3 separate regions of the Homo sapiens genome follow, and regions 1 and 3 are each linked to region 2. Evidence: promoter capture Hi-C in human tissues and cell types (Jung and others, 2019). All regions are on one chromosome and are shown on one strand. Each heading gives the region's core, a stretch centred on a gene start or on the middle of the fragment in contact. The rest is flanking DNA. Distances are from core to core; before and after follow the strand shown. Region 1 overlaps AXIN1 (axin 1). Region 2 holds the start of NPRL3 (NPR3 like, GATOR1 complex subunit). Region 3 overlaps AXIN1 (axin 1).

Region 1 (4,371 bases), core at 703-3,202, 200 kb before region 2:
GTAGCTGGGACTACAGGCGCCCGCCACCATGCCGGCCAATTTTTTGTATTTTTAGTAGAGACTGGGTTTCACCATGTTAGCCAGGATGGTCTCGATCTCCTGACCTCGTGATCGCCTGCCTCAGTCTCCCAAAGTGCGGGGATTACAGACGTGGGCCACCACGCCCGGCCTTTTTTCCCTTTTGTTCATTGTCTTTAGCCAAGTGGTATTTATTTAGCAAGCATTTTAGGACACAATATGCCGCAAAGTTATCCTGTTGAGTAAGCCTGGTATAAACTGAGAGTTTCTTTCTTTCTTTCTTTTTTTTTTTTTTGAAATGGAGTCTCGCTCTGTCACACAGGCTGGAGTGCAGTAGCACTATCTCGCTATCTCGGCTCACTGCAACTTCTGCCTCCTGGGTTTAAGTGATTCTCCTGCCTCCCGAGTAGCTGGGATTACAGGTGTGTGCTACCATGCCTGGCTAATTTTTGTATTTGTGGTAGAGACAGCGTTTCGCCACGTTGGCCAGGATGGTCTCGAGCTCCTGGACTCCAGTGATCTCAGCCTCCCAAAGTGCTGGGATTACGGGTGGGAGCCACTGCACCTGGCTGGTTATTTTTTTTGCTTGTTTTTTTGTTTGAGATGGAGTCTCGCTCTGTCGCCCAGGCTGGAGTGCAGTAGTGCAATCTCAGCTCACTGCAACCTCTGCCTCCTGGGTTCAAGTGAGTCTCCTGCCTCAGCCTCCCGAGTAGCTGGGATTACAAGTGTGAGCTACCATGCCCAGCTAATTTTCTGTATTTTTAGTAGAGATGGGGTTTTACCACGTTGGCCAGTCTGGTCTCGAACTCCTTTCCTCAAGAGATCTGCCCGCCTCAGCCTCCCAAAGTGCTGGGATTCCAGGTGTGAGCCACTGCGCCCGGCCCCGGCTGGTTATTTTTAAGATGGGACTGAAGTTGAGGGCTGGGCTGCAGGAGGAAAATGAGCTCCGTTCTGATTTCCACTGTTGGAACCCCAGTGCCTCCCTCCCAGCCACTCTTCAGTTCTTGGCTGCGAGCAGTAGCTTTGCTGTCTGTCCTTGGTTTGCTGTATTTGTAATAAGGAACCTTTGCTATGAAATTAGTGGGATACATTGGCTTCTCCTGTCTAATTTTGTGTAGCTCTGTCTACACAGTTTGGGTCCTAACTTGACTGCTCTGGGGCTGCTGGTGGCAGAGGACCCTGGGGCTTGGGAGTCGTGTCTGCGGTTGAATCCTCTCTGTGGGAGGTGGCCTGTGGTGCAGCCTTGTGGCTTGAAGATCTCTGATGTTGGAATGGTTGCTTGTCAGCACAGACAGGGCATGAAGTCCAGGCTGCGTTCCTCACATTTAGACCATTCTCTTTGTCCTGCCAGGTGTAGGTGAGGGTGCACTAGGTTGGAAGTCGTGGAAACCCACCCACCTGAGCCCAACCCTGAAGGGCACTGTTGAGGCAGAGCCTCAGGTGTGCCTTAGGGCCTGGCACCTTTGCTTTGTGCCATTCTGACTTTGCCTGCCTGGTGGGCGACTTCGTGGGCTTTGTGTTGGAGGTGGCTGCTGCAGTGACCTTGGGCTCTGGGCTCCCTTGTTTACAGATGCTTCCCGCAGCTCTGACGGATGGGCCCGCTGTTGCTCTGAGGAGGGCACGTGTGCCGCTGTGTCCCGTCTGTCTCAGCACAGTCACGGTGCGTGCGCTGGGGGCTGTGCAGCAGGGTCACTCCTGAAGGAAAGTGGGTTCTCCACCCAGACAGACGGCTGCTCCCCAGTGGGGAGCTGGGGGCAGTCCTCCAAAGGAAGGCTGCGGGTAATGCAAAGGGAAAAGGAGAGTGGGTACTGAACAGGCGGCTGGTGAGCATTGCTACCACAGCAGGGCCTGGAGCTTAGGCCTCACGTGTTAGGGGATGCATATCCTGTGGAGAGCCGGTTAGTCGTCCCGGTGTGTCCGGAATTGGTGGGTTCTTGGTCTCACTGACTTCAAGAATGAAGCCGCGGACCCTTGCCGTGAGTGTTACAGTTCCTAAAGGCGGCCTGTCCGGAGTTTGTTCCTTCTGACGTTCGGAGGTGTTCGGAGTTTCTTCCTTCTGGTGGGTTCGTGGTCTCACTGGCTTCAGGAGTGAAGCTGCAGATCTTCGCGGTGAGTGTTACAGCTCATAAAGGCAGTGTGGACCCAAAGAGTGAGCAGCAGCAAGACTTACTGGAAAGAGAGAAAGAACAAAGCTTCCACACTATGGAAGGGGACCCGAGCGAGTTACCACTGCTGGCTCCCGCAGCCAGCTTTTATTCTCTTATCTGGCCCCACCCACATCCTGCTGATTGGTAGAGTCCAGTGGTCTGTTTTGACAGGGCGCTGATTGGTGCGTTTACAATCCCTGAGCTAGACACAAAGCTTCTCCACATCCTCACCAGATTAGCTAGATACAGAGTGTCCACACAAAGGTTCTCCAAGTCCCCACCAGAGTAGCTAGATACAGAGTGTCGATTGGTGCATTCACAAACCCTGAGCTAGACACAGAGTGCTGATTGGTGTGTTTACAAACCTTGTGCTAGATACAGAGTGCCGATTGGTGTATTTACAGTCCCTGAGCTAGACATAAAGGTTCTCCACGTCCCCACCAGAATCAGGAGCCCAGCTGGCTTCACCCAGTGGATCCCGCACCGGGGTTGCAGGTGGAGCTGCCTGCCAGTCCCGTGCCGTGCGCCCGCACTCCTCAGCCCTTGGGTGGTCAATGGGACCGGGCGCTCGTCGGGGAGACTCGGTCCGCACAGGAGCCCACGGAGGGGGTGGGGGGCTTAGGCATGGCGGGCTGCAGCTCCCGAGCCCTGCCCTGCAGGAAGGCAGTTAAGACCCAGCGAGAAATTGAGCGCAGCTCCGGTGGGCCGGCACTGCCGGGGGACCCAGCACACCCTCCGCAGCCGCTGGCCCGGGTGCTAAGCCCCTCATTGCCCGCGGCCGGCAGGGCTGGCCGGCTGCTCTGAGTGCCGGGCCCACCAAGCCCACGCCCACCCGGGACTCCAGCTGGCCTGCAAGCGCATGCAGCCGCGGTTCCCGCTCGCGCCTCTCCCTCCACACCTCCCCGCAAGCTGAGGGAGCCGGCTCCGGCCTTGGCCAGCCCAGAAAGGGGCTCCCACAGTGCAGTGGTGGGCTGAAGGGCTCCTCAAGTGCCACCAAAGTGAGAGCCCAGGCAGAGGAGGCGCTGAGAGCGAGCGAGGGCTGTGAGGACTGCCAGCACGCTGTCACCTCTCACCGGGGTGGAATTTGCGTGGAGGAACGTGCCAGGAGGGCCAGCCCTCGGGTGCTGACCCCTCTGTCCTGGAGGCTACTTTGCCTGCATCTCTGCCACAGTCGCTCATCCCCTGCGGTGGGGCTGCTGCGGTCCAGCACGGCCACAGGCATCCAGTTCCCCTGTGGGACGCCTGAGTGCGGGTCCTTGTTGGTCCGTGTGTGAGCCGCGTGGTGGTTTCACATACTTGATTTGAGGAAAGTGAAGTGTTCTGCTTAGGTCTTTGTCTCAGCCTAGGAAAGAGCTCCATTCCTGGCCCTTTTCTGTGTTTGTCCCACTCACCCACTGTCATTTTGAGCTCCTGGGCCAAGGTTTCATGGGGTTCCTCCCTGGCTCCCCCGCTCTGCCTCTGTGGGAACACTTTCTGCACCCTCGGGTCTTTGTTCCCATTGTCAGTGGAACTTTGAACAGAGCTGGCTGGTTCACCTCGTCATTTCAGCGGTGTGGATCAGCAGGCAGGTTCTGCTGTTGACTGAGTGTTGGGCGGGAGGCCCAGGGCCTGCACTCCCTGGCTGGCGGGCTCAGGCTCTGCTTCCCTTCAGGGTGGCTTGGCCCACCAGGTGGCCTTCAGGGCTGGCCTTGCATGCCCCTGCCAGGTCCGCTTGGTCAAGCCCGCAGTCTCCTCGCCGCTGGCCCCTTCTGTTGACTGCCCTGACCTTCCTTGATGACTGGGGACAGGGTCTTCCTGGATATTTTCGTGTGTCTTCCCGGGCCAGTCCAGTGATGCACTTGTGGATAGGGCTGGTCAATGTGGCTGTGGCCAGAGAGTGGACAACAGACATGTCCACAGCAGGAGCAACATGGTGGCTTGTCTTGGGCTGCTGGTTCCTGGAGCTGCTCAGAGGACCGGTGGGTCCTTTCGAGGTGGGCAGCCAGCCCTTGCCGTTCAGGTTCCCGCAGGGGTGCGTGAGGAACCGTCGGACCTGCTCATTAGTTTATTGACTGTGTTTCTGGTAATGGCCTAAAAGGTTAAGAGAAGAAATGGTTAAAAAAAAAAAGAAGAAGAAGAAGAAGAAAAAGAAAGGGCCCAAAATGTGTACAGAGTTGTCTGTGGAGGAGTGGTTTTGGGTTTCCATGTCCGTTGGACCTCAGGCGGT
Region 2 (4,550 bases), core at 2,046-4,545:
ATCGAGACCATCCTGGCTAACGCGGTGAAACCCCGTCTCTACTAAAAATACAAAAAAATTAGCCGGACGTGGTGGCGGGCGCCTGTAGTCTCAGCTACTGGGGAGGCTGAGGCAGGAGAATGGTGTGAACCTGGGAGGTGGAGCTTGCAGTGAGCTGAGATCGTGCCACTGCACTCCAGCCTGGGCGACAGAGCAAGACTCCATCTCAAAAAAAAAAAAAAAATTAGCCTGGTGTGGTGGCGGGCACCTGTAGTCCCAGCTACTTGGGAGGCTGAGGCAGGAGAATGATGTGAACCTGGTAGGTGGAGCTTGCAGTGAACTGAGATTGTGCCACTGCCCTCCAGCCTGGGTGATAGAGCGAGACTCTGTCTCAAAAAAAAAAAAAAAATGTTATGCAGCCCTGTGCAAGAAAACGCACCTGTTGGTACTGTTGAGCCATTTCAAATGCACGTACCCTTCACCCTGGTGAGGCCAATCCACAAATTTGTTCTGCAAAATACACATTAGTGTCAGTGTTGGTGCAAGAGGGTTACTTGCAACAGTGAAAATGCTCATCCCTCAGTCAAGTGGTTAGGTTCTGATGCATTTGATGTGCTTGGGAAAGTTCTGGAAGCAGCCAAAGAAGCTCATTACCTTTAGTTACCTCCTGGGGAAGCCTGGGATAGGGTAGGTGGGGTGATTTTTTAAAAAACAACTTCATTGAGATATAATTTACCATACCATACCAATTTGCATACCATAAAGCTTATCCACTTCAAGTGTACACTTCCATATCTTTTTTTTGTTTTTGAGATGGAGTCTCGCTCTGTCGCCCAGGCTGGAGTGCAATGGTGCGATCTTGGCTCACTGCAAGCTCCGCCTCCCGGGTTCACACCATTCTCCTGCCTCAGCCTCCTGAGTATCTGGGACTACAGGCGCCCGCACCATGTCCAGCTAATTTTTTGTATTTTTAGTAGACACGGGGTTTCACTGTCTTAGCCAGGATGGTCTCGATCTCCTGACCTCGCGATCCGCCTGCCTTGGCCTCCCAAAGCGCTGGGATTACAGGCATGAGCCACTGCGCCCGGCACTTCCATGTCTTTTAGTGTATTCGCGTTCTCAGAGCTGTCCAACCATTACCACAGTCAACGTTAGAACATTTTCATCACTCCCCTTCAAAAAACCCATGAATCGCTCCATATTTCCCCTGACCCCCTGGAAGCCCTAGGCAGCCACTAATCATTCTGTCTCTATGGATTTGCCTATTCTGGGCATCTTATATAAATGGAATCATATATTAGTGTGTCTTCAAGATGGATTCATGTGCCGTACTTCATTCCTTTTTATGGCTGAATAGTATTCCCTTAAACAAACTATACCATATTCACCCATTCATCAATTGATATACCCTAGGATTGCTTCCACTTTGGGCTATTATGAATAATATTACTAAGAACACACATGTTTTTGTGTGGACATATGCTTTCATTTCTCTTGGCTATATATCTAAAAGGGGGATTTGCCGAGTGTTGTGTTAACTCTAACCTTTCAGGAACTGCCAGCCTGTTTTCCATAGCGAGTGTAGCCTCTTACATTCCCACCAGCAGGAGAGAGATTCCCGTTTCTCCACACCCCTGCTGACGCTTGTCTTTTTGATTACAGCCATCGTAGGAGGTGTGATGTGGCATCTATTTGTAGTTTTGATTTGCATCTCCCTAATGCCTAATAATGTTGAGCATTTTTAATTTCTGTTTTGCCCAGGCTGGTCTGGAGTTCCTGGCCTCTCAGCGCTGGGGTCACAGGCGTAAGCCTCTACCAGTTGAGCTGAGCATCTTCTGGTGCTTATTGGCCATTTGCATAATGCACTGGAAAAATATTCATATCCTTTGTGCATTTTTCAATTGTCTTTTTATTGTTGAGTTGTAAGTTTCCTCCATTCTAGATACAATTCCCTTATCAGATATGTAACTTACAAATATTTTCTCCCGTTCTGTGGGTGGACTTTTAATTTTCTTGATGGTGTCCTTTAAAGCACCGAAGTTTTTGTTTTGTTTTGAGATGGAGTCTCGCTCTGTCGCCAGGCCAGAGTTCAGTGGCACGATCTCGGCTCACTGCAACCTCCGCCTCCCGGCTTCAAGCGATTCTCCTGCCTCAGCCTCCCGAGTAGCTGGGATTAGAAGCAGGCGCCGCCAAACCCAGCTAATTTTTGTATTTTTAGTAGAGAGACGGGGTTTTACCATGTTGGCCAGGATGGTCTAGATCTCCTGATCTCATGATCTGCCCACCTCGGCCTCCCAAAGTGCTGGGATTTCAGGCGTGAGCCACCGCGCCCGGCCGCAGTAAAGTTTTTAATCTGATGAAGTTTAATTTATTCTTCTGTAGTCGCTCCTGCCTTTAGTGTCACTGCCTCGCCCAAGGTCTCAAAGATCTCCTGTCGGCTTCCAAGTGTTTTTTTTTTTTTTTTTTTTTTTTGAGACGGAGTCTCGCTCTGTCGCCTAGGCTGTAGTGCAGTGGCGCAATCTCGGCTCACCGCAAGCTCCGCCTCCCGGGTTCAAGCGATTTTCCTGTCTCAGCCTCCCGAGTAGCTGGGATTACAGGCGCCCGCCACCACGCCCGGCTAATTTTTTTTTTTTTTTTTGTAGAGACGGGGTTTCACCATGTTGGCCAGGATGGTCTCGAACTCCTGACCTCGTGATTCACCCGCCTCGGCCTCCCAAAGTGCTGGGATTACAGGCGTGAGCCACCGCGCCCGGCCTTTTTTTTTTCTTTTTTCTTTCTTTCTTTCTTTTTTTTTTTTTTGATACGGGGTCTCGTCGCTCTGTCGCCCAGGGTGGAGTGCAATGGCGTGATCTTGGCTCAATGCAACCTCCGCCTCCCGGGTTCAAGCGATTCTCCTCTAGGATTACGGGCGCCTGCCACCACGCCCGGATAATTTCTTCTAATTTTTAGTAGAGATGGGGTTTCACTATGTTAGCTAGGATGGTCTCGATCTCCTGACCTCGTGATCCGCCCGCCTCGGCCTCCCAAAATGCTGGGATTACAGGCGTGAGCCACCGCGCCCCGCCCAAGTGTTATTTGTAAAACGAAGAAACCAACATCGAGAGGGACGCTGACTCGACCCCGCGCCTTTCCCATCCGCACCAGCAAGAGGGGCCCCTGTGCCCCAAACGCGAACCGTACGGCTCCAGACAGCACCGCGGAACTCGGTGGCTTCCAGAAGGCCCCGCGCCTGCGCATTCCGCTGCCTGCGCCTGCGCCTGCGCCTGCGCCGTTCTCCCGGCCGCCGCCTTAGCACCTCCTCCGGACGGTGTCGCCGAAGTCTCGCGAGCCCGGAGCGTGGCACGTGGGTTGGTAACTGTGGCGCTGCTCCGCGTCCACCACCACCCCTGTCCTCCTCAGGCCCCCTCCGCCTCCACCCCTGCCCTCCTCAGGCCCCCTCCGCCTCCACCCCTGCCCTACTCAGGCCCCCTCCGCCTCCACCCCTGCCCTCCTCAGGCCCCCTCCGCCTCCACCCCTGCCCTCCTCAGGCCCCCTCCGCCTCCACCCCTGCCCTCCTCAGGCCCCCTCCGCCTCCACCCCTGCCCTCCTCAGGCCCCCTGCGTCCCCGCCTCGTCCTCCTCAGGCCCCCTCCGCCTCCGGCTCCGTCCTCCTCAGGCCCCCTCCGCCTCCGGCTCCGTCCTCCTCTGGCCCCCTCCGCCCCCGGCCCCGGCCCCACGGCGGGATGCGGGACAACACCAGCCCCATCAGCGTGATTCTGGTGAGCTCGGGGAGCAGGGGCAATAAGCTGCTGTTCAGGTACCCCTTCCAGAGAAGCCAGGAGCACCCGGCGTCCCAGACAAGTAAGTGAGCGCTGGGCGGGGGCCTGGCGCTCGCGGGGGCCGCCTCATTCCGGGGTCGCCTCATTCCAGGGCCGCCTCGCGGAGCTTAGCTTTTGCTGGGCATTCGAGATCTGCTCGTTGTAGAGTATTTGAAAAGTAGAAAAAGGAAAAAAAAAATTAAAATCATGCATTGTTCACCACACCAAAGCAACTACTGCTGACATTTCATCAGTCTCCAGCCTTTAAAAAATAAAGTAAAATAAAATAAAATGAGTTTGGGATGTATTCATCATGAGAAAATACAAAATTACACGAACAAGGCCGGTGGCGGTAATCCCAGCACTTTGGGAGGCCGAGGCGGGTGGATCACCTGAGGTCAGGAGTTCGAGACCAGCCTGGCCAACATGGTTGAAACTCTGTCTCTACTGAAAAAATAAAAATAAAAAAAAACAAATTAGCCGAGCGTGGTGGTGCGTGCCCATAATCCTAGCTACTTGGGAGGCTGAGGCAGGAGAATTGCTTGAACCCGGGAGGCGGAGGTTTCAGTGAACCGAGATCGCGCCACTGGATTCCAGCCTGGGCAACAGAGCAAGACTCCGTCTCAAAAAAAAAAAAAAAAGTTACGTGAACATCTGAAGTTGTCTTTGCCACCCCCAGTTCTAGCAAGCACAGGGATCACCCCTGGCCGTGTTGGGAGTTGTCTGCCCTGTGCATAGATGCAGATCTATCCACAGGAAAAGGGAACGTCGCGTG
Region 3 (4,690 bases), core at 2,191-4,690, 160 kb before region 2:
ACAGGAGGAGGAAGGTGAGGACGGCGATCCATCGTCAGGGCCCCCAGGGCCGTGTCACAAGCTGCCTCCCGCCCCCGCTTGGCACCACTTCCCGCCCCGCTGTGTGGACATGGGCTGTGCCGGGCTCCGGGATGCACACGAGGAGAACCCTGAGAGCATCCTGGACGAGCACGTACAGCGTGTGCTGAGGACACCTGGCCGCCAGTCGCCTGGGCCTGGCCATCGCTCCCCGGACAGTGGGCACGTGGCCAAGATGCCAGTGGCACTGGGGGGTGCCGCCTCGGGGCACGGGAAGCACGTACCCAAGTCAGGGGCGAAGCTGGACGCGGCCGGCCTGCACCACCACCGACACGTCCACCACCACGTCCACCACAGCACAGCCCGGCCCAAGGAGCAGGTGGAGGCCGAGGCCACCCGCAGGGCCCAGAGCAGCTTCGCCTGGGGCCTGGAACCACACAGCCATGGGGCAAGGTCCCGAGGCTACTCAGAGAGTGTTGGCGCTGCCCCCAACGCCAGTGATGGCCTCGCCCACAGGTGAGCGTGCGCCTGTCAGTGAGGAGGGGGCTTGGGGTGAGGCTGTGTCCCTGCAGAAGGCCAGAACCTCCTCATAAAACTCAGGAAACCCAGGACCGCCAGCAACAGGCAGGAGGCCCCTCTGCTGGAGGGAGTGGACTGGGCCCTGGGTCAGGGGAGTCCACGCCGTGACCTCAGGTGGGAGATGAAGGTTAGGGGACACAGCCCGACCCTGGCTCCCGCTCTGGCCCTCAGTCTTCAGGGGGTGAGCAGTGACTGCCTGTGTGTTTAGAGAGGAAACCAACCCCCAGACAGCACCAGGACAGCGGGCAGGGGACAGCGGGTGGGGGACAAGCTGGCGGGGGACAGCGGGTGGGGGACAAGCGGGCAGGGGACAGCGGGCGGCGGCTGCACCACGGGAGCCTTACAGATGCCAGGAGGGGGCCTCGCAGACGAGGAAGGGGCACAGCCTCGGCCACCGGAGGCCAGGGCGACTCGCAGCTCTTGCCCTTGCAGTGGGAAGGTGGGCGTGGCGTGCAAAAGAAATGCCAAGAAGGCTGAGTCGGGGAAGAGCGCCAGCACCGAGGTGCCAGGTGCCTCGGAGGATGCGGAGAAGAACCAGAAAATCATGCAGTGGATCATTGAGGGGGAAAAGGAGATCAGCAGGCACCGCAGGACCGGCCACGGGTGAGCACCCCGCACGCAGCCAGCCTCGTGGGGCCTGCTTTGCCACCCCTGGCCTCCGCACAGTCTCAGTGTGTGCAGCTTCAGTGTGTGTGGCGAGTGTCGCCTGTGACGCCTCACACTTCCCCTGTCACTGTGGCACCCTCCCGGGCACCCTCCAGCAGGCTCCCTGGGCCCCACGTCTCCAGGAGGAAAACCTCATGTCCCCAGAGAGAGGCTGTCCCTGAAGCCCCGAGCAGGAGGGAAGCTGACGTGGCTGTCACCCCGCAGGCAGCACAGATGCTCTCGGGAGGTCATTTCCAGTCTGACCCCCACATGAGAATGACCTAAGTCACCTGGGAAGGCCCCCACTGACCATCACTCCCGAGGTGCCCACGGAGGAGCCTTCTGTGCTCACACCTGGCCGTCCTGCTGAGGGCTGGGGAAGGCTCTTGTGTAGCGTGAGCACTTCTCTCCTCCCAGAAGGGCAGAGGCCTCGTGTGTGGTGTGGAGCAAGGCCCCGGCGCCACAGGTCCAGCCCCTGCCGCTGCCCGCCGGGCCGGTCTTGGTGTTGCTCCTGCTCGCCCCCTGGGCCTGCACTCGTGCCCGGAACCCAGCAGGAGGGCCAGGGGCCCCACAGAGGTGGTACCCCCCACCTTCCTGTCGTGGTCAGAGGCAGGTCAGCTGGGAAGTGTTGGCCCTGGTGGGTGGATGGCCCCAGCTTCCTCAGACTTAGGTCCTGATCTGCCCCCCACCCTCACCCAGGCCCTGGCCAGGACGCATCTCCCTCCACATTACTTGATGAGAACTTGTGAGGCAGCTGAGCGCCTGGGGCGTGGCCCTCCTGCCTGTGTTGGAAGCCTGTCCCGCAAGGCCTTGGGGTCCCCATCGGTGCTGACTGAGGTGGGGACGGGCTCATCGTTTTTCTGGGGCTCCCGAGGGAACAGGGGTGCACAGCACCTTGCCTGGCTCATTTTTTGTAGAGGGGGTCTCAGTGTGTTGCCCAGCTGGGTCTCAAGCTTTTGGGCTCAAGTGATCCTCCCACCTTGGCCTCCCAAAATGCTGGGACTACAGGCATGAGCCACCATTCCTGGCCTTCGAGTCTTTTTTTTTGAGACGGAGTCTAGCTCTGTCGCCCGGGCTGGAGTGCAGTGGTGCAATCTTGGCTAACTGCAACCTCCACCTCCTGGGTTCAAGCAATTCTCCTGCCTCAGCCTCCCGAGTAGCTGGGATTACAGGCGTGAGCCACCACGCCCGGCTGATTTTTGTATTTTTAGTAGAGACCGGGGCAGGGGGTGGTTGCCATGTTAGGCTGATCTCGAACTCCCAACCTTTGGTGATCCGCCTGCCTCGGCCTCCTGGAGTGCTAGGATTACAGGCGTGAGCCACCGTGCCCGGCCGAATCCTTTTTTTAAATAGCTGTATATACTAAATATTGCATGTCCCATATTTTAGGATAAGTATTAATACATTCCACTTTGAGACATACTTATACTTTTTATTCATTAAGACTTTTTTTTTAATTTTTTGCGACAGAGTCTCCCTCTGTCACCCTGGCTGAAGTGCAGTGGTGTAATCACACCGTTCACTGCAGTCTCAGCCTCCTGGACTCAAAGCTATCCGCCGGCCTCTAGGATTAGTATATAATTTGTATCCCAGTAAAGCTGTTAAAAATAAAATGTAAAAAAAGAAGCCTCATCCCAGCACTTTGGGAGGCCGAGGCAGGTGGATCGCTTGAGGTCCGGAGTTCGAGACCAGACTGGCCAACATGACAAAAACTCCATCTCTACTAAAAAAAATACAAAAAATTAGCCGTGTGTGGTGGCGAGTGCCAGTAATCCCAGCTACTCGGTGGCTGAGGCAGGAGAGTCGCTTGAACCTGGGAGGCGGAGATTGCAGTGAGCCGAGATCCGAGGTCGAGCCATTGCACTGCAGCCTGGGCAACAAGAGCAAAACTCTGTCTCAAAAAAAGAAAAAAAAAAAGTCTCCATGAAAGAATTTTTTTTTTTTTTTTTTGAGACGGAGTCTTGCTCTGTTGCCCAGGCTGGAGTGCAGTGGCCTGATCTCAGCTCACTGCAAGCCTCGCCTCCCGGGTTCATGCCATTCTCCTGCCTCAGCCTCAAGAGCAGCTGGGACTGCAGGCGCCCGCCACCACGCCCGGCTAATTTTTTGTATTTTTTTAGTAGAGGTGGGGTTTCACCGTGTTAGCCAGGACGGTCTCGATCTCTTGACCTCGTGATCCGCCCTCCTCAGCCTCCCAAAGTGCTGGGATTACAGGCGTGAGCCACCGCGCCTGGCCTTTTTTTTTTTTTTTTTTTTTTTTTGAGATGGGGTTTCGCTCCTGTGGCTCAGGCTGGAGTGCAACAGGCCAGTGTCAACGCACTGCAACCTCCACCTCCCAGGTTCAAGTGGTTCTCCTGTCTAACCCACCTGAGTAGCTGGGATTACAGGCACCCACTATTATGCCCAGTTAACTTTTTGTATTTTTGTAGAAACAGGGTTTCACCATGTTGGCCAGGCTGGTCTTGAACTCCTGACCTCAGATGATCCACCCGCCTCGGCCTCCCAGCGTGCTGGGATTACCGCGCCTGGCCATTTTTTTTTTTTTTTTTTTTTTTTGAGATGGAGTCTCACTCTTGCCTAGGCTGGAGTGCAGTGGTGCAATCTCAGCTCACCGCAACCTCTGCCTCCCAGGTTCAAGCGATTCTCCTGCCTCAGCCTCCCGAGTAACTAGAATTACTGGTATCCACCACCACACTTGGGTAATTTTTTGTATTTTTTGAGTAGAGTCATGGTTTTGCCATGTTGGCCAGGCTGTTCTTGAACTCCTGACCTCAGGCGATCCACCCACCTTGGCCTCCCAGAGTATTGGGATTACAGGCAAATGAGGGTTGGTTTTTTGTTGTCTTTTTTATTCCTGAGACTGAGCCTCACTCTGTCACCCAGGCTGGAGTGCGGTGGCGTGATCCCGGCTCACTGTAACCTCCACTTCCCCAGTTCCAGCCATTCTCGGGCCCCAGCCTCCAGAGTAGCAGGGATGACAGGCGCCCAGCTAATTTTGTATATTTAGTAGCGATGAGGTTTCACCATGTTAGGTTGATCTCGAACTCCCGACCTCTGGTGATCTGCCCGCCTCGGCCTCCCGAAATGCTGGGATTACAGGTGTGAGCCACCATGCCTGGCCGGGATGTTTTTATTGTGTGGTCTGTGGAGGACGTCCATGTGGCTTGGTGGCCAGGCCCCAGTGCCCCATCCCATCCTATCCCTCAAGGAGGCTGCCCTTGTGAGATGAGTGTAGCCCCACCAGGCCACCTGGCCAGGGTGTCGGCCACAGTCACAACTTGTTCTCTTGTTCCCCAAGGTCTTCGGGGACGAGGAAGCCACAGCCCCATGAGAACTCCAGACCCTTGTCCCTTGAGCACCCCTGGGCCGGCCCTCAGCTCCGGACCTCCGTGCAGCCCTCCCACCTCTTCATCCAAGACCCCACCATGCCACCCCACCCAGCTCCCAACCC

The links. Contacts are between HindIII fragments. The study calls those that stand out against the background at their distance.
Region 1: a fragment that was not itself captured here is called in contact with the fragment with the promoter of NPRL3 in region 2 in 7 of the 25 tissues and cell types used here (IMR-90 fibroblasts, dorsolateral prefrontal cortex, heart right ventricle and 4 more).
Region 3: a fragment that was not itself captured here is called in contact with the fragment with the promoter of NPRL3 in region 2 in 1 of the 25 tissues and cell types used here (H1 embryonic stem cells).

Annotation. Positions count from the first base shown.
Region 1 is chr16:339,950-344,320 of GRCh38, reverse strand. All of the region lies in intron 2 of AXIN1 (axin 1), which reads left to right. Among named protein-coding and RNA genes, the nearest start is that of AXIN1, 11 kb to the left of the region's middle. RefSeq lists enhancers at 2,305-2,856, 4,139-4,371. The HindIII fragment of the contact is 5,555 bases long and covers 1-4,371 here.
Region 2 is chr16:137,418-141,967 of GRCh38, reverse strand. NPRL3 (NPR3 like, GATOR1 complex subunit) reads left to right here and starts at 3,295. Exons shown (of 14, transcript NM_001077350.3): 1 at 3,295-3,326; 2 at 3,634-3,818. The coding sequence starts at 3,701. RefSeq lists an enhancer at 3,366-3,415 and a silencer at 3,636-3,865. The HindIII fragment of the contact is 17,392 bases long and covers 1-4,550 here.
Region 3 is chr16:293,566-298,255 of GRCh38, reverse strand. It overlaps AXIN1 (axin 1), which reads left to right. Exons shown (of 11, transcript NM_003502.4): 6 at 5-534; 7 at 1,030-1,200; 8 at 4,538-4,690. Among named protein-coding and RNA genes, the nearest start is that of PDIA2, 13 kb to the right of the region's middle. The HindIII fragment of the contact is 5,628 bases long and covers 627-4,690 here.